2 separate regions of the Homo sapiens genome follow, and region 2 is linked to region 1. Evidence: promoter capture Hi-C in human tissues and cell types (Jung and others, 2019). All regions are on one chromosome and are shown on one strand. Each heading gives the region's core, a stretch centred on a gene start or on the middle of the fragment in contact. The rest is flanking DNA. Distances are from core to core; before and after follow the strand shown.

The links. The method cuts DNA at HindIII sites, captures the fragments that hold promoters and counts their contacts. A contact is called where the count stands out against the background at its distance.
Region 2: a contact is called between a fragment that was not itself captured here and the fragment with the promoter of CST4 in region 1, in 1 of the 25 tissues and cell types used here (dorsolateral prefrontal cortex).

Annotation. Positions count from the first base shown.
Region 1 is chr20:23,687,702-23,690,401 of GRCh38, forward strand. CST4 (cystatin S) reads right to left here and starts at 1,337. Exons shown (of 3, transcript NM_001899.3): 1 at 1,041-1,337. The coding sequence starts at 1,268. The HindIII fragment of the contact is 7,573 bases long and covers 1-2,700 here.
Region 2 is chr20:22,595,386-22,598,085 of GRCh38, forward strand. The region is part of intron 1 of LNCNEF (lncRNA neighboring enhancer of FOXA2); the gene reads right to left. Among named protein-coding and RNA genes, the nearest start is that of LNCNEF, 11 kb to the right of the region's middle. The HindIII fragment of the contact is 3,832 bases long and covers 1-2,700 here.

The DNA of each region.
Region 1 (2,700 bases), core at 87-2,586:
TGAACCCTTTCCCTGCACAGGGCCTCTCCCAGACACTACGTGGCAGAGCTGTGGAGAAACCTGGGATGAGGGACTCTTTGGAACCAGGAGGAACTGCTGAGATCCCTCGAGTATCAGTTTACCCATGTATAAAATAGGCTTCCAGGTCTGATGGTCTGCAATGCCCTGTGCTTCACTCCAAGTTACTGTCATGCTTAAGAGGGAGATGCAGGCCAGCGGGGACCATGGCACCAGGGAGTGCACCTCCTGTGCAGGGTGAGGGCTCCAGCTGACAGCTGTAGGAGGAGAAACGGGACTGGTCTGGATTCCTTTGAATTTCTAGAAGGTGGAGGAGCTCTAAAGGCTGTGTCACTATTTGCTGCTCTGCCATGGGATGCAGGTCAAGCTGGGCCCAGTTGCCCTGCTGAAGCTCACTCTGGACCTAACCCCTCCTCTGCTCTGCTGGGTGACTGCTGTCCTCATCTGGCTGAGGTCTAACTCTGCATCAGCTCGTAGAGGCAGGGCCAGGCGTGCTCCACCCCAGCAGGGACTCAGCCATCCTGGCCTGCAGGGGTGGGTCAGCCTGCCTGAGGGTGAAGGCCACTAGCCCTAAGGGGCTGTGCCCAAGGGCATGACTTGGGGAAGGAAGAAGGGCTCTGCAGAACAGGGAGCCAGGTTCCCATGTGGCCCCTGAGGAGAGGACTCAGGGAGGAGAATGAGCCTCACCGCCTGGATCTCATCCTGAGCAGCATCAAGCCCACCCAGAGTCAGCACAGTCTCCATCCACACCTGCTGGACGCTGGGAAATGCCACGGTCATGGTACAGACACAGCAGCTGCTGCAGGTTAAAGGAAGCTGCAGCACTTCCTTTAACTGTCTGCAGTGCATGGACCGGGAGCATGCTTAGGCATGAAGGGCATCAGCGGAGAGTCAGAGAAAGCTGAATGAATCTGAGCATTAGATCATGAATGTGTCAGTGTTGATTTGCTTGGAATGCTCTTGGGGGTCCGGCAACAAACCAGGCTAGGGCTCAGGACCCCTCGGGTGGAGGCAGCACCCACCTGCTCCCTGGCTCGCAGCACCTGCAGCGGGCGTCTGTAGTACTCATCTTCGGTGGCCTTGTTGTACTCGCTGATGGCGAAGTGAAGGGCACGCTGTACCCACTCATCATTGAGGTCTGCATCATAGATGCCACCTGGGATTATCCTATTCTCCTCCTTGGAGCTCGAGGCCAGAGCCCCAGCCAGGGTAGCCATCAGGAGTAGCAGGGTACACAGAGGCCGGGCCATGGTCTCCTCAGAGGCAGAGCACAAAGCTGGAGCTGCAGGAGAGGAGGGTGAGAGCCCGAGGCAGGGAGCCCAGACCAGCAGGCAGGTGTGCATTTATCCTGCTTTGGCAGCCCAGCCCCACCCACCTCCATGCCCTGCCCCTGACTCCTCCTCCTCTTTCTGCCCATCCCCTCTTTCTCCATCTCTCTTTTCACTCCCCCACCACTACAAGCTCCCTCCCTGCCTAAGTTCCCCCTGCCCCTCCCAGGCCTCCTCCTCCATCTCCCCCTCCTCCCCACTCCAGTCCTCACTGCAGCCTCCCTGAGCCATGCCTCTCTTCCCCAGTGCTCCCAAGCTTGAGTCACCCAGGTCTCCACAGAGGTGACACTGGTCCTTTGACTGTGAAAGCAATGTGACTTCCTGTTTGCTCAGAAAGGGGAAAAATACAGGGCTTGGCCTCCCGGGGTCTTCAGATATCAGAGGCTTCCAGGAGCACTTGGTCACGGTCTCTGAATCTCTGGAACAGAGAGGTTATTTCAGAAGGTTCCAGAAGACCCTGTCCACACCCTAATATGGAGAATTTCTTTGCCAAATTTAAGGGAATTAACCTTTTTGGAAAAGGTCACTGGCTTCTGTTTTCATAACTCATTATTCAATAAACAAACCTATCACCAGTTACTGCCCATGCCAGGAGGTCTAGGGCTTGAAGACGGAACCTGGATGATGAGCCATAGAGGTGACATTGCAGAGCTGCTGCCCACAGAGATGTGACATGAACCCACAAGCATTTGAAAATTTCTAGTAGATGCATTTTAAAAGATGAGAATAAATGGGTGAAAGTAATGTTTAAAATATTTATTTAACCTAATATAGCCACAATATTATTTCAGCTAACGGGAACAATTATTAATGAGATCGTTTATGTGTGTTTTTTTTTTTTGGTTTTGTAAATCTTTGAAATTCCCTGTGTATTTTTTACACTTAGCCCAGGAATCATTTTGGACTGGCCCCATTTCAAGTGTCCTGTGGCACATGTGGCTGGTGGCTGTGGAACTGCACAGTAAATTCCTACACAGTGTGTGTAGAGGATGGTAGGTTACGATCAACAATTAGGATCAGGGAGTTATACTCACTCTGTTGGAAGTGAAATAGAACAGGGGCTAGAGAGAGACCACTGGACCCTGGTCAGGGTGGTCTCTATGAGACTGGAGAGGTTGAGCAGCCCCAGGCAGCGGGGAACAGCCAGTGCAAAGGCCCTGAGGTGGGGTTGGGACATGCCTGCTCCAGGAAGAGGAAGCTCCTGGAGGGGATGTGAGCAAGGGAGGAAACCACCTGGAGTCTCACGGTAACTGTGGGTGAGGACCGGTGGAAGGTGCACGGAGACCCCTGTGAGGCAGTGGGGGTGTCAGGAGAGGGAGCAGCAGCCACGGGATGAATGTGGGAACCCACAGGC
Region 2 (2,700 bases), core at 162-2,661, 1.1 Mb before region 1:
GGCCAAAGACTGCTCCAGAATTGGAAAACATGTTCTACCCACTTGTGACTCTCCCTAGCCAAGAGCCAGACCTTGTCTTCAATTCCATGGCTTTCCCTTCGTTTGAAGGTTAAAGTCAGCATTTCACTTTTACTGCTGTTAATAACTCCCAACTTTTCCATATTTCCATTTTTTTCTAAACTCTTTACTACATGCTAACACTGCCTTCATTTTTTCTCTGCCCTCTTCCTGAGGTCACTTGGTCCTAGAAGCCTCAGGTTCCAAATGTTTTTGCAACCTCCCCTTTACCCTCCCCGGTAACATGCTGTTCACCATTCCACTTTCTGATTTCCTTTTCTGTTCCTTTAGTAGTCTCTGCACTTCCCCTCCTCTCCCATCTGTAAAGCCATCTTTCTTCCAAGTGATGTTCTCCAGGTGACCTGAATCTGGCAGAAGCCTCCTCCATCCATCTTTTTAGAAGGACCCTCAGTTGCCAGAGCCAGTCTGACACCTTCTTCCATACCAGCTGCTTCAGACCAGCCTGGGGGCCTGCTCTGGGGGTGGAACCATTGTCAAGTTTCACCCATCAGCTAAAAACATGCCACTTGGATTCATTGCAGGTAACCAAGAAAGTCATACTCTTTAAGCTCACCAACATAGTTACATAGTTCATAAAAAATATTGCTCCATTTTCCAAGGGACTTTCTTAGTTGACGAGTGGGAGCAGAGGTCCCCATAATCAGCAGCTGGTTTGCTCATTGCTGGGAAACACAGAAGACAGGTCGGTCACTGGACAGGGGGTGCAGAACCCAGCGCTGGAGTGCACAGAGGTAGGTTTTGAGAAGGAGTATGCACTTCTTAACTTTCCAATAGCATTACTCAGTATTTTCTTTTCCTTAAATAGTACTTTAGCTCACTTATCAGATTTCAACTTACTTTTACACACTAAAGTATGACTTGAGGTCTTCCCAGGTTCACACGTATAGAATGACCTTTTCTTTTCAGCTGCAGTGCAGTGTGTATATTCCATAGTTCTTTAGTCAGTCTATTACTATTGGTGTCTCAGGTGAGTTCCCCAGAAGCAGAGCCTGAGGAGAGGACTCCTGTGCATGAGAATTACCAAGTCACTGTGCTTCCCAGAGAGTTCTGTAAGGGAGTGGGGAAGGCAGGGAAGCCCAGTGTGGGCCATTTCAGGCTATGCCCAGCAGAGAGGAGCTTCAGACTGGTCCTGAAGGGGACTCAGGTGTGTGAGTGAGGCTCAGCGCTGCACCCATCATTGGTTTAAGGGCCCTCCTGGGGGCAGGGGTCTCACACATCCCAGGCACGTGAAGCTGTCTATGAGAGTATACCAGGTGGCTCTGGGCACCCAAGAGCAGTCTATGATGAAGAGCTTGCAGGTGCAGAAGCTTGCTGAAAGCCCCACAGCAGATGGCCCTCTCCTTTTTAATTGCAGCCACAGTTGTGACAGGGGTGTGACCTAATGTTGGCCTTAGCTCTTATTTAAAGGCACGTTTGTTTGTTTCCCAGAGAAGCTCAGCCAATATTCATTTGACAAACACCAAATCCCTAGTATGCCCCATAAGCTCACATCGCAGCTCATGGGGCAGCATGAATGTCCTCCAGGAGTTCACACAGCTGGGAGTAAACCAGAAATAGGTATGAACACAACAAAATTCATTATTGCAGCAGCAAGACTGTGCACCACTGAGATAATAGCAATTCACTCTTCCTTGGCTGGAAGGGAGGGTTGCCTCTTGCCTGAGGGGCTGATATTTAAGCCAAACACTGGAGGAAAAGAAAGTTTGCCAGGCCGAAAGTGACACAGGGCTCCTGGAGTTGGGGTTGGGGGGCAATGCCAGCACAAAGACAGGGGAGCAACTGGGCAGCGGGTGTTAGGGCAGGAGCTTCCTGGGAAGGGCAGCGAGAACAGCTCAGAGACAAGAAAGAATTGTTCTGAGGAGCTTTCAGGCTAGGGGGTTTGGACTTTTCTCTTGGGAATGGGGAGTCATAGAGTGTTCTGAGCAGGAGAGAAAAGCCCAGGATGGGTTTGCAACAGCTCCTCTCTCAGTAAGGTGGAGGGAAGTGAGATTGAAACCAGAATCACTATTCAGTAGACACTGAGGTGTCACTGGGCTTGTTGGTCTGCTGCTGGGAGTACAGACCACAAGCTGCCTTCAGCTGTCAGCCCTTTCAGGGGTCAACTCAACTGCAGAGAGCACTTCCCTTGAGGTCATGGTCTTTTCTAGGGTGGCCCAAATCCAGTCCTGTTGGATGAGAGTCTACAAGGGTCTGGCCATCTCGGCCAAACTCAGATAACTCTGAGAACTATACCAGCTCTGGGGCTCACCATACGGTTGGCCAAGGCTGCTTTGGGGACCAGATTCTCCCTCTGCTCACTCCTGCCTTCTGTCCGTCTCCCCAACCCCTGCCAATTGACCCCACTGACTGTAAACACACCACATGCTAAACTCCAATTGAGAGGCTGCCTTTTTGGAGCCCAGCTGAGACAACAACTCAGGAGGCTGTAGCACTACCCCAATAGAGAGGATGGGTGTGGGAACATCCCCTCCAGTTTCCACACTCAGTGGAGACAGCTCAGTTCTGGCAGGAGAGATCTACCTCTCTGGTAGATCAGGCCTCTGATGGTTTCTCCAGAAAACTCCAAACCCACACAGACAGGAAAGTGTCAGGTAAAATGAAAACAAAACCTGGGCTCAAAAG